Linked DNA regions of Homo sapiens: all the other regions are linked to region 5. Evidence: promoter capture Hi-C in human tissues and cell types (Jung and others, 2019). All regions are on one chromosome and are shown on one strand. The core of a region is centred on a gene start or on the middle of the fragment in contact, and the rest is flanking DNA. Distances in the headings are between cores, read along the strand shown.

The links. Contacts are between HindIII fragments. The study calls those that stand out against the background at their distance.
Region 1: a fragment that was not itself captured here is called in contact with the fragment with the promoter of ADAMTS1 in region 5 in 3 of the 25 tissues and cell types used here (IMR-90 fibroblasts, dorsolateral prefrontal cortex and hippocampus).
Region 2: a contact is called between a fragment that was not itself captured here and the fragment with the promoter of ADAMTS1 in region 5, in 1 of the 25 tissues and cell types used here (IMR-90 fibroblasts).
Region 3: a fragment that was not itself captured here is called in contact with the fragment with the promoter of ADAMTS1 in region 5 in 1 of the 25 tissues and cell types used here (hippocampus).
Region 4: a contact is called between a fragment that was not itself captured here and the fragment with the promoter of ADAMTS1 in region 5, in 1 of the 25 tissues and cell types used here (dorsolateral prefrontal cortex).
Region 6: a fragment that was not itself captured here is called in contact with the fragment with the promoter of ADAMTS1 in region 5 in 1 of the 25 tissues and cell types used here (bladder).

Annotation. Positions count from the first base shown.
Region 1 is chr21:27,953,123-27,957,481 of GRCh38, forward strand. No RefSeq gene overlaps it. Among named protein-coding and RNA genes, the nearest start is that of LINC00314, 58 kb to the right of the region's middle. The HindIII fragment of the contact is 6,895 bases long and covers 1-4,359 here.
Region 2 is chr21:27,913,186-27,917,699 of GRCh38, forward strand. No RefSeq gene overlaps it. Among named protein-coding and RNA genes, the nearest start is that of LINC00314, 98 kb to the right of the region's middle. The HindIII fragment of the contact is 7,334 bases long and covers 1-4,514 here.
Region 3 is chr21:25,669,557-25,673,868 of GRCh38, forward strand. The region is part of intron 1 of JAM2 (junctional adhesion molecule 2); the gene reads left to right. Among named protein-coding and RNA genes, the nearest start is that of JAM2, 32 kb to the left of the region's middle. The HindIII fragment of the contact is 4,887 bases long and covers 1-4,073 here.
Region 4 is chr21:27,936,556-27,940,575 of GRCh38, forward strand. No RefSeq gene overlaps it. Among named protein-coding and RNA genes, the nearest start is that of LINC00314, 75 kb to the right of the region's middle. The HindIII fragment of the contact is 5,541 bases long and covers 1-4,020 here.
Region 5 is chr21:26,843,795-26,847,828 of GRCh38, forward strand. ADAMTS1 (ADAM metallopeptidase with thrombospondin type 1 motif 1) reads right to left here and starts at 1,615. Exons shown (of 9, transcript NM_006988.5): 1 at 431-1,615. The coding sequence starts at 1,160. RefSeq lists enhancers at 1,799-2,399, 2,400-2,999. The HindIII fragment of the contact is 5,494 bases long and covers 1-2,625 here.
Region 6 is chr21:25,706,217-25,710,458 of GRCh38, forward strand. JAM2 (junctional adhesion molecule 2) reads left to right here. Exons shown (of 10, transcript NM_021219.4): 8 at 3,218-3,233. All of the region lies in intron 1 of LOC124905002 (a long non-coding RNA gene), which reads right to left. Among named protein-coding and RNA genes, the nearest start is that of ATP5PF, 27 kb to the right of the region's middle. The HindIII fragment of the contact is 5,528 bases long and covers 1-4,242 here.

The DNA of each region.
Region 1 (4,359 bases), core at 1,669-4,168, 1.1 Mb after region 5:
ATAGTATTAAAATATTAAAATGTTTTGCTAATATAACAAAATAGTATTTAATAAATATTATTGAATATAATATTTTCTATAATATAAAGCTAGATTATAATATAAATACAATGTAACATTTGCTATGAATAAATATTCCCATGGTTGGCATTTCAGCAGTGAGGTACAGTTGCATTAATAGGTACATGTCCTTTCCCTAATATCTAACAATATAAAATTAAGAGTAGTTGGAGATGAAAAAATAGGACATAATTTTATGAGCATGGAAATAATAAAGACTGTGTTTGCTCACAATAAATGCAATACCGCTACCCCATCCTCTCAGTGATTCACATTAAACACTGAATATTTGCCTTATAACAGGAGGGAAGAAAAGATCAAAGACTATTAAACAAGGCTGAGAGTTACGGCCCAAGGATTTAGTTGCGGCATAACTTCTTGAAAACCACTTCTCTATTCAAAGGGGAAGTGCTTGAGATAGTTTTGTTAGAAGGTCATTGTCTTCTTTTAGAAGGCGTATGATTTTGTATGTGTATTCATGTGTATGCCCACATGACACAAAAACTTTTTAGATATGCCACAGAATAGTGAGAATAAAAGTGGGGAGGAAGAGCTCTATTTGTAGACCCCTTAAATACAAGCTATAAACAATGCATTTGACATTTTGTGCAATCACTCTGAATTCTAATTTTAAAATTAAAATTAAATTTAAAATTAAATCTAAAATGAAAATAAAATTAAAATTAAAATAACTATTTTAATTTTAAAAATATTTTTTGAAGATATTTTTATTTATGTGAATAAGCATTTTTTACAGAGTTAAGAGTTACAGTCAATGGTGTACATGTTTTTAAATCTCTGAACATATATTGTCAAATTGCTCTAATAAAATTATATAAATTTATATTTCAAACAATCATATAAAAAGTGCTGGTCTCACACTGTGATGAGTCGCATTGCGGAATCAATCTTTAATTGCAAACTTTTTTCCTGCAACAGTCAAAATTCTTGGGTGATGGGCAGACAACTGGAAGGCGGGTACCCTGTTTTGTATAGGAACATCCTTTGTTTATAATGTCTGCTCTGTTTACTTAATCCAGACCTCACCATTTTACTTTGATCCCACATAAAACTCAAGAAGCAATATTAAGAACTAACACTGGGCTAGGTGCAGCGCTTTGGGAGGCTAACGTGGGAGGATTGCTTGCGCCCAAGAGTTCAAGACCAGCCTGGGCAACATAGCAAGACTCTATCCCTACAAAAAATAAAAAAACTAGCCAGGCCTGTAATCTCAGCTACTAGGGATGCTGAGGCAGGAGGATGGGTTCAGCCCAGGCGTTCAAGGTTACGGTGAGGTATAATCACACGAATAAACTCTAGCCCAGGCACCAGAGTGAGACTATCTCTTAAAGAAAAAAAAAAATGATTAGCCTCAAAGGAACCCCTAGTATGTCAGGAAGATGAGACAGTATCTAATATAAATTATTTTTTACAAGGTAGAGGAAAGTAATTCATATTCAGAAAGAGGTTGTTGAGGTGACATTGGAGATGTTTGTACATTTTGAGTGAGTCAGTTCTAGCTGGGGGCCCATTTGTCTCAGGATCACTTGTGACTGAGAAAGAAGAGAATTTTGCCTCTAGGACATTATTTTAAATTTATTCAAAATTACATGCAAAAATAGTCACCCACAGATGGTTACTCCGTAGCTTGCCCAAATTGAACAGATCGTTCCAGAACTGTTCTCAGAGGTGGATAAATGCCCACTTTACAAATCCCCAGTTGTCAGTCTTCAGAGACTAGAGAGAAATGGAATGCAGCTGAGAGAATCTAAACTCTTCCTCAACCCTTGGAGGAGGTCTCTTCCCAGGGCAGGATTCAAGTGCATCTGCTTTGCTGCAAGGCAAGTTCCCTATTGAACGAGAGCTCAACCCAGAAGATTTCAAAAACCATGCCTGGGGACTTTTAAGACCACATTTTACAAACACTTTAAAATGTGGTTTTGATGCTGTTAACCTTTAACCATGCTTTTTTTTTTTTTTTTTTGAAAAAGCTCTCTGTTTAGAATCTTGCAACTCTCTCAGACGAACTACAGATCATCATTTCCATAACTACACCAACTTACAGCGAACTTCTTTCTGGTGTTTATTATCTGTATTGCCATTCATTGCCTCTTATTGCTTTGTTGTTGATGTTGTTGTTGTTTTTATAAGCAAGCCTTGAACTCTAGGAAGATTGTAAGCATCTTGGGGTTAGGGGATAGATATTTTATCTCAGTCTATTTGCTTTAAACAAAGTAAGTTCTAACATTGCGTATTGAGTACTGTACTTGTTAACAATTCTCAGCATGTGAAACATATCATTTGTGCAGCTTGGAAAAGTAACTTATATGATTATACAGAATGTTTGTGATTTGGTCAGGGAGTATTATTTCCTCTCATTAATTGCCGTGTGCAGAAGACTTAAAGTGGAAATAGTTTTCACTGGAGAAAAAGAAAAAGGAAAACCATGTTGATTCTTACTGCCAGTCACCACAGACTGTAAGCCTTAGTGCTTCCAGGCAAAACGAATAAGTCAAAAGTAAAAGTTAGACCTTTAAAACTTTGTTGAAACTTTTAAAGAAAGAATATTTATTGGAGAGAACCAATTAAGTGAGTGTTGGGGGGGAAATTGCTCAAGTTTATGACAATAGAACCATCTTTGGATTATTTATCATCACTTCTATAAACTGTCTTTAAGTATATACTGACCATATACTTTGCTCAGGATGGTCCTGGTTTGTGCTCGATGTCCTAAGAAATTATCAATAGCTCCTCCCCAACCCTTCCACACACAGCATGTCACAAAGGGGATACTAAATTTTATGACTGCTACGCAGATTGAATGTCTTAGTCAAGATCTCTACTTTCAAAGAATGAAAAACCACGCAAATCAATCAATAAAAAGTGGTTTTTCAGATTAGATAATTGTATACTTTGCTAGTTTTGAACCACTCATCAGATATTGGACTGTTTTAATATGCTGCCAGCATTATCAAATAATAAAGGTAAAAAATAGGTATTTCTGGTCAGATTCTGGACTAGCTTACTATGTGCAAACTTTCAAAATAGATTTTAGTATTTCTGATATTTGCGCTTTGTTCATGCAAAGTAAATTAGAATCTGGTGTATTTAAAAGAATGCACCAGAACATTTTAAAAGAATGTTTATTTTCTTCAATTAAAAACAATTCTTTAGAGAGAACATTTAGATCTGATTCTAGCTATTCAAACTAAGGAGAAATAAATGACTTCAACACAGAATGACTGACTAGGTATTTGCAGGGTGATTTGAAGTCCCAAGGGATAATGAACTTCTGTGTATTTCATAAGAGTGTTATTAACAAGCAAGTGGCTTTTTGGGTCAAGAGCTTGGTTCCTAAAAGTAATGTCAAACCCATCACATATTCTCAGAAGCATGTGCATTTAGGTTCAATCTCATTATGCAAGCTTATGTCAATCAATTTCCAGTTCCCAGTTTCCAAGGATGTTAGAAGAGAAATTAGTTCTTTACCTGAAAATTCTATTTGAAGTGGGAATTAGTCTTTGAAATAAACAAAACCATCACAAATACCAGCATGCTCCGGAAGAATTCATTCCTTTAAAGAGCAATATGTTCCCTCTGCTTCACTGAAGAAAAGGAGTTTGATGGGTAATTCCTAAATTATGTTTTAAAATGTTTATCATAAAGTCTTAGAATAATAGAAGTGCACCTGCAAAAATAAGCATATATTTTGGGTCTTGGTTGTGGTTGTGGCATATGCCTGTAAATGAGCAGAAGTAATTCCAACTGCTTTTGCTGTTATTGCCATTATTGTTTGTTGGTGATACTTTTATGGCTCTGGCAGCCTGGAGACAGAATTTCTTAGATAGATAAAAGATGAAGGGGAAGAATGGGAAGTGAGGAAATGAAAAGGGGAAGAATAGTGCGTGGTATGAATTATGAGAAATCAAAATATAATGCCATGTGACAAAATGTCAATCATTTCTATTTACCTCCACTATTAAAGTTATTAAATTAATCTTTAGAACTATAGACCTGGAAGTTTATTTGAGATGATCCCTGGAATTTATCACTACTATTAGTAATACCCAATTCAGTTCTTAGGTTCCCTTCATTGATATTAACTTACTTATTGGATGAAACTTCATTATCGTTCTTTCTTATGCATTCTAGGTACCCAATACTTTAACTGAAAAGCAAAATTTTAAAAATAGTCTTGAAAATTATTTTTAAGTTTAGAAAGAACCTGCTATAAACAGAAAAGGTGAGGTTGGAGGAGAGAAACTCATGAGAAACCAAATAGCCAAAGTAATGAGTAGC
Region 2 (4,514 bases), core at 1,637-4,136, 1.1 Mb after region 5:
CTATTTTGAAATATACAATAAAATATTAACAATAAATTAGAACTTATTATTTCTGTCCAACTGTGTTATTTACTATTAACTAATTCTTTTTCATCCTCCCTACCCCTCTCACACTTTGATAACCACCATTCTACTCTCTATCTCAAGGAAATCCACTTTCTTTGCTCCCCCATATGAGTGAGAACATGGAATGTTTGTCTTTCTGTGCCTGGGTTATTTCACTTAACATAATGACCTCCAGTTCTGTTTATGTTGCTGCAAATGACAAGATTTCATTTTTTTATGGCTAAATAGTGGCCAGCAAGAATACAAAAACAGTGCTCACTATTACCAATCATCAGGGAAATGCAAATCAAAACCACAATGAGATATCAACTCATCCCAGTTGGAATGGCTATTATTAAATAGAAATAAATAAAATATGTTAGCTAGGATGCAAAGAAAGGGGAACGCTCATACACTGTTACGGGAATGTAAAGTAGTACAGCCATATGGAAGACAGTATAGAAATTACTCAAAAACAAAACAAAATAAAACAAAACAAAAAAAGCCTGTAATCCCAGCAGTTTGGGAGGTGAAGGCCGGCAGATCGCTTGAGGTTAGGAGTTCGACCAGCCTGGTCAACATGGGGAAACACTATCTCTACTAAAATTACAAAAATTAGCTTGGCGCGGTAGTGCATGCCTGTAATCCCAGCTACTTGGAAAGCTGAGGCAGGAGAATTGCTTGAACCCAGGAGGTGGTGGTTATAGTGAGCCGAAATCATGCCAATGCACTCCAGCCTGAGTGGCAGAGCAAGACTCTGTCTCAAAAAAAAAAAAAAAAAAAAAAAAAAAAAAAGAACTACGATGTAATCCATCAATCCCATTACTGGCTATATATCCAAAGAGGGGAAATCAGTATATTAAAGACATATCTGCACTCCCATATTCATTGCAGCAATATTCACAATAGTGAAGCTATGGAATCAACCTAAGTGTCCATCAACAGATAAATGGATAAAGAGTATCTATATGTATATGAGTACATATATGAAAAAATATATATGAATCCTAAACTTTGTAAGAAATTAGTATAGTTTTAGGCTTACAGAAGAACTGTGAGGGCGACAGAGTTTTCATGTGCACCACACTGAGTTTTTATTGTTGCAAACATTATACATTAGTATGGTAACTTTTTTTACAATTAATAAACAAATACAAGTATATTATTTTAACAGTAGTCTACACTTTATTCAGGTTTCCTTGGCTTTAGATTTCTGTCCCAGGATCCCATCAAGAATAAAATTACATTTTTCTGTCATGTCTCCTTAGGCTACTGTGGGCCATGACAATTTCTTAGAGGTTTTCTGTTTTTGATGACTGATATGGTTTGACTGTGTCCCCACCCAAATCTCAACTTGAATTATATCAGTAGAGTGGAGAGTTGCTGAAAAGATACCCAAAATATGTAAGCAACTTTGGAACTGCATAACAGGCAGAGGTTGGAACAGTTTGGAGGGCTCAGAAGAAGACAGGAAAATGGGGGAAATTTTGGAAAGCATGATTGGTTCTGAAATGTGAGGACACGAGATTTCGAGGGGTTGAGGTGAAATGATATGGTTTGGCTGTGTCCCCATCCAATCACTTGTTGAATGGCTTTGATAAAATGCTGATAGTGATATGAACAATAAGGTCCAGGGTGAGGTGGTCTAAGATGGAGATGAAGAACTTATAGGGAACTGGAGCAAAGGTGATTCTTGTTATGTTTTAGCAAAGAGACTAGTAGCACTTGTCCCTGCCCTAGAGATCTGTGGAATATTGAACTTGAGATTATTTAAGATACCTGGCAGAAGAAATTTCTAAGCAGCAAAGCATTCAAAAGGTGACTCGGTGCTGTTAAAAGCATTTTGTTTGGGAAGGGAAACAGCATAAAAGTTCAGAAAGTTTGCAGCCTGACAATGCAGTAGAAAAGAAAAACCCATTTTTTTGTGGAGAAATTCAAGCCAGCTGCAGAAATTTGCATAAGTAGCAAGGAGGCTAATGCTAATCCCCAAGACCATGGAGAAGATGTCTCCAGGCCATGTCAGAGACCTTCAGGGAAGCCCCTCCCATCATAAGCCCAGAGGCCGAGGAGGAAAAAGTGGTTTTGTGGGCCAGGCCCAGGGTCCACATGCTGTGGACTTGGTACCTTGTGTCCCAGCTGCTTCAGACGTGGCTCCAAAGGGCCAATGTAGAGCTTGGGCTGTGACTTCAGAGGGTGGAAGCCCTAAGCCTTTGCAGTTTGCACATGGTGTTGAGCCTGTTGGTGCACAGAAGTCAAGAATTGAGGTTTGGGAACCTCCATCTAGATTTCAGAAGATGTATGGAAACTCCTGGATGCCCAGGCGAGTTTGCTGCAGGGGTGGGGCCCTCAGGGAGAACCTCTACTAAGGCACTGTGGAAGGGAAATGTGGGGTTGGAGCCCCCACACAGAGTCCCTACTTGGGCACTGCCTAGTGGAGCTGTGAGAAGAGGGCCACCGTCCTCCAGACCCCAGAATGGTAGATCTACCGACAGCTTGCACCATGCACCTGGAAAAGCCACAGACACTCAGTGCCAGCCCATGAAAGTGGCTGGGAGGGAGGCTGTACCCTGCAAAGTCACAAAGGTGGAACTGCCCAAGACCATGAGAACCCACCTCTTGCATCAGCATAACCTGGATGTGAGAACTAAAGTCAAAGGAGATCATTTTGAAGCTTTAAGATTTGACTTCCCCACTGGATTTTGGACTTGCAAGGGGCCTGTAACCCCTTTGTTTTGGCCAATTTCTCCTATTTAAAACAGCTGTATTTACCCAATACCTGTACCCCCATTGTATCTAAGAAGTAACTAGTTTGATTTTGATTTTACAGGCTCATAGGTGGAAGGGACTTGCCTTGTCTCAGATGAGACTTTGGACTGTGCACTTTTGAGTTAATGGTGGAATGAGTTGAGACTTTGAAGGACTGTTGGGAAGGCATGATTGGTTCTGAAATGTGAGGACACGAGATTTCGAGGGGTCAGGGTGGAATGATATGGTTTGGCTGTGTCCCCATCCAAATCACAACTTGAATTGTATCTCTCAGAATTCCCACATGTTGTAGGGGGCACTCAGGGGGAGGTAATTGAATCATGGGAGAACAGTCATTTCCATGCTATTCTCATGATAGTGAATAAGTCTCACACTATCCAGTGGTTTTATCAGGGGTTTCCCCTTTGCTTGCTCCTCATTTTCCCTTGCTGCTGCCATGTAAGAAGTGCCTTTTGCCTCCCGCCATGATTCTGAGGCCTCCCCAGCCATGTGGAACTGTAAGTTCAGTTAAACCTCTTTTGCTTCCCAGTCTTGGGTATGTCTTTATCAGCAGTGAGTAAACAGACTGATGCAATGACCTGAGAGTTTTGAGGGGGTACTCATCATGTACTTCGCAGAATGCTCAATCAGGTTTTTTCTAATGCTTTTCTCATCATAAGACATAGGTTATTGGTTTTTAAAAGGAAGACCACAAGGTAAAGTGTAATTCTCATCACATTACATTAAAAGTAGATACTGTAAGTATAATCTACCACTGATTTTATTGTGTATGTTTAAACTGTACAACATGTCTTGATATACATAGTGAAATAATTAGCATAATCAAGCAAATTAATGTATCTATCACTTTACATTGTTTTTGCGTGTGAGGTAAGAGCACCTAAAATGTATTACTGTTGATGTTAATCTTGATCACGTAGCTGATAGAGTTTGTCATTTTCCTTGACCATAAACTTACTTTTTTCCCCCTTTCTACACTGTAGTCTTTGGGAGGAAGTCACTGCACAGCCTACATTTAAAGAATGAGGGCTTATTCTCTACCTCCTTGAGGGCAGAGTGTAATGTAGATACTCATCTATGTTACTTTTACTCTTTATGTAAATTACTTCGAAATTTTCTGCATCAGAGATTTGTCTCTTCTCTCCTATTTGTTTATTCATTTATTTATATTGCAACATATTTGTATGGACTCACAAATATATTTTTTAAGCTGGGGTTTATATTCAGTATTTAACACTATTTTGTTTTTCAAGGTGTTCTAGCTTTGGCCATTGGGAGCTATTTTAGTTGGCTCCTGTGTCTTTTGTGTGTCTTTGACACAATTCTATCATTGTGAGTATTTCTGTTTGTTTGTTTTGGTTTTTTGCACTTGCTTGCCTTCTACCCCTACAAGGTATTCCAAGCACATCTCCTATATTTCTTGACTCAATCCTAGAACCAGCCATTTCTCCAAAGATTCATGGTTCCTTTTAACAGAGAATAGTATTAGGAACCAAGATCTAAGTGCTAAGTGGGCTTATTGCTACTTCAGTGTTGATGCTTCCAGACTATCTCAACTGACAGAGAAAAAAAAATGTGTGAGTATATTAACCCATGTATATACACATATTAATAAATATATCTATATTTCTATAGCCAGAAATATCTATATTAAGCAAAATGTAAGTTCATACTGGTGTATTGAAGTCTACTGTAATAACACA
Region 3 (4,312 bases), core at 380-2,879, 1.2 Mb before region 5:
AGTATTTATAGAGAATCTACTGTGTGCCAAGAGGTAGGCTAAGCAATTATGTACATGATTTTATTTCATCTTTACAACCAGCTAGGGAAGGCATTACTAGCTTCATTTTACTTAAACTGAGGCTGTAGCTTATCCAAGGTGACGTGGCTAGTAATTCACAGCACTGGGTTTCAAATACTGGGTTATGACTTCCTAAAGACAGAATGATTCTGTTTCCATCTATAATGAAGACTAAGACTTAAGTTGCATTTCTCTAATAGACTACTCTTTTCTTACCTTGCTAGACTCTAATGTTGTCTTTTATTTAATTTTAGATGATACTTACTCAAAAAGCCAAGCTGCTGAAAATAATAGTGGTAGAATACAATTTAGTTCTTTATCCCAATGGGGGTAAAGTCAGTTCTGATACCACCTTATTAAGACTAAGTGCTAAGATTATGTGCTAAGGCTGACTCTAAATAATTTCAAAACTTTTGGTAGATTCTGTCATAAATCCAGTTCTCTTCATGCTATGACAAACATCAAACAGCCATTTCACTTGAGTTATATTACGACAATTAGACTTTTGCCTACCATATCTGGACACAAATACCTTTGTTCTTCTTTCCAATACTCAATTTGAAAGAGTTTCAAAAATTTGACCTTGGCTGCGCATGGTGGCTCATGCTTATAATCCCAGCACTTTGGGAGGCCGAGGTAGGTAGGTCCCTTGAGCCCAGAGTTTCGAGACCAGCCTGGGCAACGTAAAGAGACCCTGTCTCTACAAAAAACACAAAAATTAGCCAGGCATGGTGGTATGTGCCCACAGTCCCAGCTACTCAGGATTGCTGAGGTGCAGTGATCGCTGGAGCCCCGGGAGATCAAGGCTGCAGTGAACTATGATCACGCCACTGCACTCCAGCCTGGGTGGCAGAGCAAGACCCTGTGTCAAAATTTAAAAAAAAAAAAATTGACCTTTATCCAATAGCACAAAAACTCATTTCCTGACCATTCTAGGAAGCAGCTCCAAAGGTCCCACTGATTTTAATGTGTGCAGATATTCACTAAATTATTTATTTTATTGGTCTAGTTCACTGATCCTAAAAAAGTGCGTGTTGGTGTTAGCTCACAGTTGGATGTGTAGGACTAGTTTTGAACTAAAAAAGTCAGAGAACTGTTTTTACCAAAAGAAAAGGGAAATTGTGGTTCCTGGATTTACAGGACCCAAGAAATCAGGGTAGCTAATTCTTAGGAATCTTGCCTGACAATTGTGAATATGACAGTTAAGCAATGCCAAACCATTGTTTCCATGTTCTGCACTTCAAAATAAATGGTTCTTGTTTTTTGGCTTCCTGAGGACTAATCAAAGGAAGCATGAAGCAACAATGGCTGGGAAGTTTCCCTTGGTTTTCAAATTTCTTCTGTAAGCACTTGTGGTAATAGAATTTAATTAATAACACTTGTATGTAATGTAAGGGCCAAGATTTTATGAGTCATCTTCCAGCAGGAAAGTTGAAAAATAAAATTCACACAGCTCTCATATTTTAAGAAATGAAGTTTGATAGAAAGTGTGCATGCTAAATCATTGGCCATATAAAATCTCTAGTATTTTAAAGGCTGAATATCAGATCATGGTCCGTGGAGACCATTTCTTTCTCCCAGCTTTGTGGGTGGTAAAATCGAGAAAGCTTAGTAAACTCATTAATAAGTAGAAGCCCAAAATTATGTGGAGTGGGATATTAGTTCCCTGTGTAAGAAAAATAATACAAAAAAATGCTTATTCTTGCAAATTTTACAAAATGTGCATGCATTGCTAAGCCTTCCCCACCCACCCTCACTTGGGCCTTGGTAAGTACTCTTGTAAGGGTTGGTCCCAAAACTTAAGCCTTATTAAACTCATGGTCAACCTGTATCCCTTTATGTGCCTATTTATTATATACAACCTATTTTAGAAAAAGATTATCTTTTTCTTTATTTTTTTTTTCTTTGAGACAGAGTCTTGCTCTGTCACCCAGGCTGGAGTGCAGTGGCACAATCTCAGCCCACTGCAACCTCCACCTCCCAGGTTCAAGTGAGTCTCCTGCCTCAGCCTCCTGAGTTGCTAGGACTACAGGCGTGCACCACCACACCTGGCTAATTTTTTGTATTTTTTTAGTAGAGATGGGGTTTCACCATGTTGGCCAGGCTGGTCTCGAACTCCTGACCTCAAGCAATCTGCTGGCCTTGGCCTCTCAAAGTGCTGGGATTACAGGCATGAGCCACTGCGCCCAGCAGAAAAGGATTCTCTTTGTTTGAGAAATGCTAAGATAACCTCATTTGCAGATTATACATTTAACAGATTGGTGATATTAGAGAATCCTTTTGATCTCTTTTTATGCTAATCTCTGCCAAACACATTAAACTGTTAGTGATTGTGGAAATTCACTCAGTAAAGCAGAGAAGTAAAACTACAAAGATATAAAGGAAGTTTGAAACAATACCAAACATCTACGTAGCGTGGGAGGTGGAGAGAGTTTAGTAGATGGTAGTGATGTATCTTGTCACATACATTGTTTAAGCAGCTATTTTTCTTTTTCTTTCTTTCTTTTTTTTTTTGTTGAGGTGGGGTCTTGCTGTGTTGCCCAAGCTTGTCTCAAACTCCTGGGCTCAAGCAATACTCCCAAATCAGCCTCCCAAGTAACTGGGATTACAGGTGCATGCCACCACATCCAGGTGGTTTAGTAAGTAACAAATACCTGTGGAATAATTATTTCTCTATCCCTGACCCAAACAGCCCCTGAGAAATCTGGGTGTGTATCAGCTGTTAGGGTGTTTTGTGCAGAGATGCACAGATTCTCACAGAATTTCAGAACCAGAGTTCAAATCCAGGTTCAGAGACTCAGTTTTAACCACTTGCCCAGAGCTGATCAAACTCTGGAGAAATGATTTACAATACCTAATCTTAAAAATGATTTATTTGACAAGTAAATGAGTAAGTATATTTCTAGTGAGAAATAGAACTGCCAAATGCTGGCAGTGGTTCTGTACTTTTAATCTTTAAAAGCTGTATCTAGGTCTAGGAGTTAGGTAACTACAATTTCAGATTAAAGAGCAATGAATAATCCTAATTTATATAGCTCTCAAAGTCTGATGCACCATCTCTGCTGTAGAGGTGCGCCTATACACAACGCAGACCATGTCTCATTAGTAAGGAGGGCACCCAGGCTTGTTGTTCTTTCTCTCTTTGCCATTACGCCAAGTGTCTGTTTTGATGTCTGACATCTTTCATATTCTTCTACTATCCACTAATGAAGTGTTAGGGCCATCGTTTTGTTTTCTGGTAACTTACTCTTAAGGAGAAGCAATTAGAACACAGAATGGCCAATAACCATGGCTTCCACTGAGTATGTGGCTCTTATTAGCATCCATTTTGGAAGGGGTATTTCCTTATTTTGTCTTGATAGTCTACTAGATTTGAATTGACTGTTGCCGTCTATCTAAAATCTATAGTTAATGTCACAGGTAAATGAATTGTGTTTGGCTGAGATTGTCACTTGGGGAAAATCAAAGACTACAGAATCCTAAAATGGCTTCTTCATGTCTGATGAGGAGTGCCTGGTGAGACATTCAGCCACTGATGGTTTTCCTGTACCACTGGCTACCATTACACAATTGAACATGTGCAGGACAATTTTTTTTGAAATTTTTGGGAATTTATTTTACTTCGAGAAGTTAATTTAATTACTTCATCTCTTTCTAATATCACTGAAAAATTTTAATCTAGTTGTTTGTGCAATGGAATGCCCTGGAAGTTTTCCTGAACTTAGTAATGCATGTAACTTATATGAAAATAACTTTATCCTCAATTCTGAATCATCAGTAGTCCCTCTTATACTTAAGTTGTCGAAGAACCAGAAAAGGGAGAGGGCATAAAACTTTTGTGCATAAATATACACGGTTTATTCAAATTAGTTCATTCACCATAAACGTTTACTCATTAACACTGTCTCTGTTAAGATGGAAATTTGTAGTATACTCTCTGAATAATATCTTTACAACCCTAAAGGTTGAAAATGGCTATGAAGCCATTACAGTGTGTCTGGCGGTCTTATGTCTGGAGCTACTTTCTCATAATGCCTTGTACTGATTTGAGGGCAGGGAGAGAGGAAAGGGGACTGTGGAGCAGACTAAGCAGATGGACATCTTGGCTTCCCTGCTTTCTAAAACACTGTGACCTCCAGCAACTTATTTAACTACTCTCAATTGTCATATCTCTTGATATGGTTTGGCTGTGTCCCCACCCAAATCTCATCTTGAATTGTAGCTCCTGTAATTCCCACATGCTGTGGGAGGG
Region 4 (4,020 bases), core at 1,348-3,847, 1.1 Mb after region 5:
TTGATTGATTCTAACATTATAATTCTTTACCTTTGATTTTTAAATCCTTCCAGTTTATACTGTATGTTGTTTATCTTCTAATCTTTTTATTGACTGTTTCCTTTGTATTATAGATGCCATTTCTGAGACCTTTTCTATTCTCTGGTGTTTGTATCATCCTCTTCTTGTTTTATGGATGCATTATCTTCTCTTATCTCTCTGAGGTGATTAAATGGCTAAAATGCAAAACTTTGGGAAAGGCTTGCATGAGTCTTTCAGGTAGATTCATTGCTCTCTGATGGATATCCAAAGATATGTGATTATATCTATCTGTTTTATGTGTATTCTATTATAATTTTCCCATTATTTAATGTTATCTATAAATTCCCAAGCTGTAAATCTTAGTAGAACTCACATTATATTTATATGTGTTCCTCACCATACTCTAAAATGCTCAAGTCATAAGCTTTCTTAATCTTTTTTGAATAAGGAATGGAAAAATTCACACAAAATACATACTTGCTTTTACCTTGTTTATAATTCTATCTTTAGCAGTCAGCAAAGTGCATGTTATGCTTTATATTCTCAGGATACAACTTACCAACAAATTGATGGAATTTGAAAGAGATTTTTTTTTGCTTATAAAACATTTTGGTGGCCCTAAATTTTCAAGCATGTGCTTTGTACTTGGGAAGCAATTCACCCATTTATTTGGCAACAGTATTTCTTTCATATCTACTTGGTGCTATGGAGAAGTAAATTAAAACAAAGTTTAAAAAATCTTGTGAATTTAATTATCCAATTACTTAGTTCATTACGAATATGTGCAAATCCGAATCGAATAAATAAACAATTCCATGAGGACAGAGGCTCTGCTATTTTACTTGTAATTACACTTTTGGCTCTCATGGCATCTATTTATTGTCAGACATTGTTTTTCTACGTAGATACAGTCTAGAGTAGATAATTATTAGATGCAGCCAAAATTTAAAAAGAAATTCAATGAAAGAAACCTTGTTTTAAGCTGAAGATTGCACAAATTACTTCTTCTCTCAATACCGTCTGATACCCACCATTCTACATAAATAATTTGTACATAGTTGCTCATTGCCTAAAAAAAAAAATGTTTGCCCGTGTGAGACATCGATGCATCAATAGTGCTTAATTATAATGACAGCTTCAAGCCACAGTATTTTTCCACATTTTTTTAGTTCTATGTTCTCTTAAAACTAGTCTACCTAGGCTGGGCGTGGTGGCTCACGCCTGTAATCCCAGCACTTTGGGAAGCCAAGGGCAGGCGGATCACAATGTCAGGAGATCGAGACCATCCTGGCTAACACTATGAAACCCCGTTTCTACTAAAAATACAAAACATTAACTGGGCGTGGTGGGGGGCGCCTGTAGTCCCAGCTACTTGGGAGGCTGAGGCAGGAGAATGGCCTGAACCCGGGAGGCAGAGCTTGCAGTGAGCTGAGATCGCACCACTGCACTCCAGCCTGGGCGACAGAGCAAGACTCCGTCTCAAAACAAAACAAAACAAAACAAAAAAAACTAGTCTACCTCTTCCCTTAGAAACTTTGCATCATTTAACAACTTGTGTTAGAGAGAATAATAGCCTCCCAAAAATGCCTATGACTTAGTCACCAGAATCTATTCATCTGTTACCTTACATGGAAAGCAGGACTTTGTGGGTGCTATTAAATTCTTGAGATGGACAATTATTCTGGATTATCTAGATAGATAACAATCTAATGATATAATCTCTTTAGAGCAGGAAATCTTTCCTAGCTGGGCCAGAGAGCAAGATGAGACAGGAAAAAGGAAAGAGTTTCAAAGAGTGAGAGGGACAAGCTTTAATGTTGCTAGCTTTGCAGATGGAAGAATAGGGTGAAAGGTGAGGAATATAGGTGGTTCCAGGAGCTGGAAATGGCCCTCACTTGAGACAGCCAAAAGATGGGAGCCTCCACCCTACACCACTAAGGATATGTACTCACCCAACAGCCTAAATGAGGTAACAGGCTTTTTCTAGAGCCTCCTGAGAAGGATACAGCCTGCTTGAAACCTTTGCTGGATTTTGGATAATACATTTGTGTTGTTCAAGTCATTAAATTGACTGTAATTTGTTATTGCACAATAGAAACCTAATAAACAGGCCTGTCACGGTAGCTCACGCCTGTAATCCCAGCACTTTGGGAGGCCGAAATGGGCGGATCGCCTGAGGTCAGGAGTTTGAGACCAGCCTAGCCAACATGGTGAAACGCCATCTCTGCTAAAAATACAAAAATTAGCTGGGCATGGTGGTGGATGCCTGTAATCCCAGCTACTCAGGAGGCTGAGGCAGGAGATTGGCATGAACCTGGGAGGTGGAGGTTGCAGGGAGCCGAGGTCACGCCATTGTACTACAGCCTGAGTGACAAGAGCAAAACTCCATCTCAAAAAAAAGAAAGAGGAAGAAAGAAAAAAAGAAAGAGAGAGAGACAGAAAGAAAGCAAGCAAGCTAATAAACACCATAACAATGCTTCTTTCTCTGAATTCATTTAGAACTTGCTAAGCATCCTAATGTAGTTATCAATGAGGAATCCTATACTGCATTGTAAGAAGACGTATGAATGTTTTAAAAAATATGTTTTTACAAGTCTCTAGTGTTTGAGTTTATTCAGGTCTATTGGTTCAAGGGTTCTAGTATTAAAGTCACAAGTGATTAAGCGCCACACTACACAATTATCTATCCATTATTTAGCACAGAGATTTGGAACAGAGGAGGCAAGTCAGTAGAAAATTGTATAAATTTTAGTACTTTTTATGATTTCCTTAAAAAACAGAAAATAAATGAAAATAAAATATACATTAAGTAAAAAGAGGTATAAATGTAATGTTACTATATATTTCATTTCTTGAGTAACATATGAAAGATTTTTTTAAAGTCACATTTAGGCTAAGACAATTTTCTTTAAAATAGCTCTGTTAAATTTTGGACAAAGTGTCTTTGCCTTTCTCTCATTCTTCATTTTCTCTTTCATTTTCTTTTTTCATCTATCCTAAGTACAGAAGTCACAAAATAGATAGCATAAAATATTTATTGAGCTCTTCAAATATCCATTCAAAAATTCTCTGATAAAGACAATTTTCAAAGCACCACCAAAGAGAGATGACTCAAAGGACCAGCAAGCAATTTAAATATCTCATGTAATACTTAATTTTAAGTATCTCTTTGCATATCTATCGGTCTCATTATTTTCCAAAAGTCTGACCCTGGAGTTCTGATACCCAAACTCATTTGAATGTATGGATTTTTCCTTCCTCATTAGAGTAGAATGTAAAGATTTTTCTTTCCTTATTATGGTTCAGCTCACTTATACCTATTAAATAACTGGTGAGAATGTTTTGACTTCATCTTTACCCTTAAATTTAACATTTAAATATAAATATCAGTTGCACTTTAAAAATTCACATATCCACTAAGCATTCAGTTTAGAAAGTGTTGTGTACATCATGAGAAATAGAACTGTATGATGTAAGATTTGTGCTTTATTTAGCATGGGTGATAAATGTATTTATATTACAGCGTACATGTTTGCTTTTGACCATTTTTGTTTTGTCCAAATTTTCACAATAAGGCCCAAAATATTCACTTGTATGTTCTCTTCAATCCTCTATCTCAATTCTACTTTGCATCCAAGTATCTGGGATGAAAAGAAAATTAGTCGAAAGTTTTAGGACTTTAAGTGAGTAGATTTTTATTACTGCCCTGAAAAAAAAAATTAAAAAGGAAATGTCATGAAAACAATGGGTTCTAGAAAAAAAAAGCTGATATTTCTAATACAGTAAGAAAATAGATGTAATTGTCAACTCCGAAGGAGGTCATTTCACTAGCACATCCTATGGAGTGGCTGAGCTGTTAGCAGCAGAAGGCTATCCTAATGACAAACATACAACCAAAAGCCCCAGACAAGCAAACTGTTGCACACAGGGCTGTGTGTGTGTGTGTGTGTGTGTGTGTGTGTGTGTGTGTGTTTGTGTATGCTTGCATATATGTTTCAA
Region 5 (4,034 bases), core at 365-2,864:
CGCAGGATGCACGCACAGGCAGCGGTTACAAAACTCAGCGCAACGTTGCAACCCGCACAAAAGGCGCACACAAAATCATTAAAAAGAAATACACAGAGTGGAAAGAACTCGCACAAGCTCCAACTCGCTAAAGGTGGAAGGAGTCAGGTTACAAACTCTCCCTCCCCGGCCTAAATGCTTTGCTTTAGTTTGCAGAAAATCGTTTGTCAGTTTTTTTCTTGGTTATTCATTATTCGGGCAAATGCAAGTATGTTTTCTAGCTGAGTTCACCAATCCAAACCTCAAACCACATTCCTCCACTCCAGGCCTCCGTTCTGTCCGCGGACTTATGATCCTGCCTGCCAGCAGGAGTCTACCCTGAAGTCGCGTGGGATAGATAAAGTGAGGAGAGGAGGATGAATGGACAGACAAACGAGAGCAATTCTTCTACCTGTGGGCTGTCCTACGCCTTGCAGTGCCGGGTCCTGCGGCGACCACTGAGCCCCTTCGTCCTCGCCCTCAGTCCCTTCGTCCTCGTCTTCGGTCTCCGCTTTCCCAGTCGGCCGGGGCTCGTCGTCCACGACCCCGCACGTGCCGCCGACGTCGCCCTGCCGATTCCGCCGCAGGAGGTGGAACTGTAGTGGTGCCGGCGGCTTCTCCCCTGGGGCGGCGGTGGCGAGGCGCTCGCTGGCGGCGGGCAGCGGCTGGATGAAATACGCCTCCCCCAGCAGGTAGAAGGCGCCGCGCACGCCCTCGCAGAGGCTGAGGGCGGCAGCCGAGCTGGGATCGCCATTCACGGTGCCGGAGTAGAAGCAGTGCGCCAGGTCGGTTTCCGGAAGCGGCGTCTCGGACCCGGATTTGCGCCCCACGTTCTGGAGCGTGAAGCCGGGCGCCAAAAAGCTGCTGTCGGGCCGCAGCTCCAGATCCAGCTGCTGGTCAAAGGCGTGCAGGCGGAGGCGCGTGGTCCCGTGTCCCGGGGCGCGCTCCAGCTCCGGCACCACTAGCTCCTCGTCCTCCTCGGAGGGGCGCCCGAGTGCGTCCGACACGGCCAGTAGCGCCGCGGCGAGCAGCAGCAGCGTGGGTACTGGCCCAAAGCTCCGAGACCCCGGAGCCCGCTCCGCGTTCCCCATGTCGCTGCCCAGCTTGCGCCTTCCGAACCCCTCGGGCACAGCTCGCTGCATTGGAGCCCCAGGAGACACCGCTCGTAGCAGCGCACGGAGCGAGGGACCTTTAGTTCGGGTCGGGAGAGCAAAGCCTCGTTGGCCTGCTCTGGATTGTTAAAATTAACAATTTCTATTATTCGTTGGAAGGGCGCGCAGAGCCGGCTACAGCCGAAGCTCCCGGAGTCACTAAAAGGAGGCGCTGCAGTTCTGCCGGCGCGCGGGAAGTTTTTCTTCCAGCGCAAAGTTGGAGACACTGAGAGGCAGGCGCAGGCAGAGTGGCTCTGCTGGGACAAGAAGCGCTCTGGGGCGCCTCCGGGGCTGAGGCAACGCGGAGATTGGTGCCTGGCGCCCCTCTTCGGCCTCCGCCTTGGCTGCGATGTTGCTCACTCTGCTCAGGGCTCTCCCCTCTCCGTCCGGTAGCGCACCCTGGCTTTGCAATAGCCCCTGGCTCGGAGCCGCTTTCCAGCGAGTGCAAGAACCGGGCAGCCGAGCGGTCCTTTTATAGTGGACCAGTGAAACCCCCACCCCCACCCCACTCCTCCCCTTTGGCCCTTTTCCATCCCAAAGACGCCGCCCCCGGCTCCGTTGGTGCTAAACCGCGCTCCGCGCTGCGGGCTCGGGAGGGGGAGGGGGCAGCCTCCGCGCTGGCTCCACGCCACTGCTCGTCAATCTAGGGGCGGAAGGGGCGCTGTGACCAGCACTTTGTACTGCTGGGGCCGCTCCAGGGAGAAGACTCTCCCTTCCACCGCTTTTCTCCCTCGCCGGTTTCCTGGACCACCCTTCCTCCCCACCGCCCGGTTGCGGTAACTCAGTTACCGCGCTGGGCTGCGGTTCCCAGGAGGGAGGGTTCGGTTGGAGAACGCAGTCCCTTCTTCAACATTTCCCTATCCTGGAGCTGCCCTGGGTCTCCTTCCCTCCTCCCTCAGTTCCCTCTTCCCCAATCTAGGAGATGAGCTAGGGCTACACTTTCTAGAAAAATACCTCACCCCACTTCTCCACCTTCCCAGCCTGCCAGGAGCTCCTTAGCCGCCGCCTGCTCTCTCTTCGCCCCAGCTTTTCTAGGGAAAGCTTGGCCCTGCGCTTCCCCCAGAAAGCATGCCTGGGTGAGGGGCCAGGTGACACTTCCTACGATCTGGATTTTAAAATATGTTTGCTTATGCCTTCACCCTCCACCAACCCCCACCCCGCACGCCACCTCTTCACCAGAGACGACTTTGTGAGGGCCCGGTTTCACATTTCTGGAATGGGTGATCTGGGACGCGGCTCAATTCCCTAGAGCATAAGGAGGGAATTGCGCTTTTTCTTCTTCATTCGAGAAATGATCGGCTCCCGCCAGTCTGCGTGCTTTCACTCAACAGCAGCTGCAAGCCCTAGGCCAGCGTCGCAGAAACGGCCAGGAACCCCACTTTCCTACCCGGGGGCCAGCAGCGATCGCTGGGGCTAGCAAGCGTGCAGAGGGGGAAAGAAGGAAATCGGCTTCCTTCCCGGACCCCTCCTTCCTCTTCCTACCAGGAAGGGAAAAGGCTATATCCGCGTTACGAAAGCGAGGAGAGGTCCACCAACAGGTCCTTAGGAAAAAAAACTGAGTGGCTCTTCTCTCCAAAAAGTGGGAGGGGCTCAAGGACCCAGAGGAAGGACGTGTTTCACAGGCGGAAAGCCGCGGGGACAATGGCGAGAGCGACCGCCCTAGCCCCGGGCGGACCCGCAACCCTCACACTCGCGCGCCCCCGCGTTAGTGCTCGAACTGGTCTCCGCCTTTCCGCCCCACTCCCGTCCGGTCTCTTGGTTGGCTCCAAGTAGATCTGGGTCCTTTCCTCGCTCCTCCCCAGATCTTCCCCACTTCAGTTGGCCCCAGCCAGAAGCGTCCCTTCTAGTTCTCCCACACGTCCCTCTTACAAGCTTTCTTTTCCGGATGCTTTCCAACTTCTTTTTTCCTAGCGAGATTGCTTACTTGAAAAACAAAAACAAAAACATTGCTTTCCACTCATCAGGAAAAATCAAATGAGCAAGAATGGCAGAGAGAAGCAACTCAGCTTACTTCTGAAGGGCTTAGTAACGACCTCTAGTCCCTACACATTTAGGAGTGGGTGGTTTCGTAGATTTAATTTTGGTTTCCTAAAATCACCCTCATCGTTGAACGTTGAATAATCAACCAAGGCCTTAGATATATTTTGACAGCGCTCGATTAACATTCTGATAGTGTTTCTGCCTACCTCTTTTCACTGAGTCTCTCCTTTGCAGCCCTCGCTGTCTCTCCCCCCCTCCCGCCGTTGCATTTCTCCTTCAAACTCAACATTGACATCCGCACACCTGAGTGTGTGATTCCTTTCTGCATTGTCAAGCATTGTCCAGCCTACCTCCTTCTCTTCGACTTCGAACTACGAGGATTATTCCTTCCTGTTTCTCTGTTTCCCAAGCGTCTTTTCCCAAACATCTGATCATTCCTACTTCCCAGTTTGGTTTTCAGACTTTTTTTTTTAACATTGTTATCTTCTATTACAGTAATTTTTTGACGGTCCATTTTCTATGATTTCATTTCATTTTACTGGTTCTTTCTAGCTAGAAAAAAGGCAAGATACTTGAGAGAACATATGAGGAAAGTCATGTTAGACTTTCAAGATATTGACCGCGGGATCACAAAAGCTTGAAGGCAAAGCCATCCGTACATTTTCAACCTCTTGCTTAGAAAAGGGCTCAGAAGATAATATATGGTGACAACAGTTACAGCCTCAGAGTGGCTTTGAGATGGAGATTTGAGATGGAGATTTTGGACACTCATAATCTCCATCTCAAGGAGAGGTGGCCCAGAGGCTGAATGAAGATGAGTGAAGGTAGATGTGATTCCCTTAAATTGGGGCAAAAAGGGACAAAAACAGCAGAAAATCTGTATCT
Region 6 (4,242 bases), core at 648-3,147, 1.1 Mb before region 5:
TGCCCAGGCTGGAGTGCAGTGGTGGCAAAATCTCCACTCAATACAACCTCCACCTCCCAGGTTCAAGTGATTCTCATGTCTCAGCCTCCCAAATAGCTGGGATTGCAAGTGTGCACCAACACACCCAGCTCATCTTTGTATTTTTAGTACAGATGGGGTTTCGCTATGTTGGCCAGGCTGGTCTCGAACTCCTGGCCTCAAGTGATCTGCCTGCCTTGGCCTTCCAAAGTGCTGGGATTACAGGTGTGAGCTATTGTGCCCGGCCCTCTCCTAGCAAGTTTTAACAAACTCTGGAGAATATTGTTCATTTATTTTCTGCTATAGAAAATGTTCAGGATGACATGCAGGTGGCTTATGAAACACCTTGGCAAACCTAGGGAGAAAAGGCAGAACTGCCTAGTTGCACATTCCAGGGAGCACCACAGAATATGCAAGAGGCATCCTTGGAGTGGTGCAGTGCAGCGAGACAGAGATATTCAATGTGAACGGATATTTATAGTATCTTTGCATGTTTTTAAGATTTTTTTTTGTTTGTTTTTTTGAGACGGAGTCTCACTGTGTCGCCCAGGCTGGAGTGCAGTAGCGCAATTTCGGCTCACTGCAAGCTCCACCTCCCAGGTTCACACCATTCTCCTGCCTCAGCCTCCCGAGTAGCTGGGACTACAGGCTCCCGCCACCACGCCCGGCTAATTTTTGTATTTTTAGTAGAGACGGGGTTTCATCGTGTTAGCCGGGATGGTCTCAATCTCCTGACCTCCTGATCCACCCACCTTGGCCTCCCAAAGTGCTGGGATAACAGGTGTGAGCCACCGCGCCCAGACAAGATATTTTTAAGTTAGGAATTGTATATCTCAAGATATAAGTTGATTTCAAATTCTTTAAGAAATTTCATTGAAATAAATAAGTGAAATATTTCATCAGTGTAGAACAGTGAAATGTTGAATGTTAAATTTAGGACAACTGTATTTAGAAGAGAATTGTTCAGCTGGGTGTGGTGGCTCATGCCTGTCATCCTACCACTTTGGGAGTCTGAGGCGGGAGGATTACTTGAGGTCAGGAGTTCGAGACCAGCCTGGCCAACATGGTGAAACCCCGTCTCTACTAAAAATACAAAAATTAGCCAGGAGTGGTGACATGCACCTGTAGTCCCAGCTACTGAGGAGGCTGAAGCAGAAGGATCACTTGAACCTGGGAGGTGGAGGTTGCAGTGAGCCAAGATCATGCCACTCCACTCCAGCCTGGGTGACAGAGCAAGACTCCATCTCAAAAAAACAACAAAAAAAGAGAATTGTTCAGTCAAAAATAGAAACCTATTGTATTTATGAGAGCTACTTCTGTACACAGTTTTGAATTCTTCAAATTTAGACCTCTTGTAACTTCACACCTCCATTTGATAATGCAATAGGTTTGATGTAAATGGGTGGGATTTAAAAATGTTTTATTCTCTTAATGCATTTCTTCACTCCCTCTTTAATATTATTGGAGAGCTCAGAAGCTGCAGCATTCTATCAGGGCCACTGGCAATAGTGTGTAAAATAAAATTCTTAATTGAATTATAAATTTATAGCATATACAAGTTCTAGACCCATTGTTTTACAGCGAACATTAATTTCGGAATTTAGATTTTTAAAACAATTTTTTTTTTTTGAGACAGGGTCTCACTCTGTCACCCATGCCTGGTGCAGTGGTGTGATCAAGGCTCACTGCAGCCTTGACTTTCCGGGCTCAAGCAGTCCTCCCACCTCAGCCTTCTCAAGTAGCTGGGACTACAGGCACATACCACCACACCTGGCTAATTTTCTTTTATTTTTTGTGGAGACAGGTTCTTGCTCTGTTGTTCAGGCTGGTATTGAACTCCTGGGATCAAGGAATCTTCCCATCCCAACCTCCCAAAATGCTAGGATTACAGGTGTGAGCCACCACTCTTGGCCTTTAAAAATATATTTTATGCCAAAAATAAACTTAAATATAAAATGTGTTCCTAATAATACCTACAACTAGGTATTATGTCTCATAAAATGTTTCCGTGGACATGGATTCAAAGAGATGCCCTATAATTAAGAATAACTGGGCTGGGTGTGGTGGCTCACACTTGCATTCCCAACACTTTGGGAGGCCGAGGCAGGAGGATCACTTGAGTCCAGGACTTCACGACCAGCCTGGGAAACATAGGGAGACCCTTTCTTTACAAAAAATAAAAAATAAGCCAGGCATCGTTGCACACACCTTTAGTTCCAGCTACTCAGGAGGCTAAAGTAGGAGGATCGCTTGAGCGCAGAAGGTCGAGGCTGCAGTGAGTTGTAATCTCACCACTGCACTCCAAGCTGGATAACAGAGCAAGACACTGACCAAACAAACAAACAAAAAGAGCGGCTCTGTCAATTAATACTTGTTCAGTGCTTCAATTTAGCCCACTTTAATGTAACTTTATGAATTGAATCCAGCTGTGGCCCCCTGCTGGTCATCAGTGAAAGTACAGACAAATAAGATAACTCTTCCAAAACTCTTGTCATCTTTATCTATAGCCTAAAATAATACTGGTCTGAGTTTTTTTAATGAGGAGTTAGTAAAAAAATTTTCCTAAAATATTGAATTAATTAAAAGTTGACTTGAATATTAGGAGTTCGTTACCTAAGAATGTTACTCTGATTTTTCATCTAGCAGAAAAATCTATCCAAGAGAAGCATATTCTTGAATATATGTTTAGGACAGAGGTTGGCAGACTACTATCTGTGGACCAAATCTGCCCTCCCCGCCTATTTTTCTATGGCCTATGAACAAAAATGGCTTTACAGATGAACATTTACAATCTATTTGATGATAGGGCCCGCTGACTTTGAACCCCAATTAAGAGAAATGTTATCTTCCCCAAAAGCATTCCATTTCTCTAACTAGTAGGCCTGTTTTTCAAGACTTTTATTATTATTGTTATTATTATTATTATATTTTTATTTTATCCATAAAAATGTTTGGAAATTTGTTTGCTCTCTTGTTACTTAAGTACCTATATAGTATCCTCTTGGCCCCAAAGCCTAAAATGGTTGCTGTATGGCTCTTTACCAAAAAAGTTTGCCAACTCTTAATTTAGAAGGTATAAACGTCAGCAAGTGAAGATTAAAATTAATAAAAATAAATTAAACCCAAACTCATTTTTATATGAATCTGTATCATACCATAATAACCCTTGCATTAATGATATATACTTTTTCTTTTGTAGAAGAAACCTCCTTCCAGTAAGTATACTTTCCTACAATGCATGTCTTTCTCCTATGTCAACTAATTTTCTATTAATCATCTGTTTAAAGTCAAAAGAGAGAAGTTGGGTTATTTGTGTAGGTTTACTCTCACAAGAAGTTACTCAAGTTTATCAAGAAATACATCTGTATTAGGCTGTTCTTGCATTGCTGTAAGAAAATACCCGAGACTGGGTAGTTTATTGTAAAAAGAGGTTTAATTGGCTCACGGTTCTGCAAGCTGTACAATCCTGGCACCAACACTGCTTGGCTTTTGGGGAGGCCTCAGGAAGCTTTTTACTCATGGCTGAAGGCAAAGCGGGAGCAGGCACGTCACATGGCAAAAGCAGGAGCAAGGTTGGGGAGGTGCCACATACTTTTAAACAACCAGATTTCAAGAAAACTCAGTCACTATTCTGAGGACAGCATCAAGGGGGCGGTACTAAACCATTCATGAGAAATCCGCCCCCATGATTTAATCGGCTCCAACAAACCCCACCTCCAACATTGGGGATTACAATTCAACATAAGATTTGGGCAAGGCAAATATCCAGACTCTATCAACATCCCACTTCACACTTCATACCTACTTGTAAATGGTAGTACAGAGAGAATGATGATTACCCAGCCTACTTGTAAATGGTAGTACAGAGAGAATGATGATTACCCAGACAAGAAATATGGTCACTAATTTGATTTCATAGGCATTTGTATAAACTAACTTAAAAAAAATTTACTGTATTTTGCTAAATTGAAAATTTTCAAATAAAATTTTAGTTAACAGTCATTTTTTTATATTAATTGAATACCAATTTTGTGCCTAACACTGTTCTAAGGAATGGGGATACAGCAGTGAACAAAACAGGCCAAAAACCCCACAAAACTCTGCCTTATGGAGCTTACATTCTAGTAGAGAAAGGCAGAAAATAAACAGGTAATACTATATAGTATATCAGATAGGGCCATTATGGAGAAAAATAAAACAAATAAGAGAATATACAATACAAAG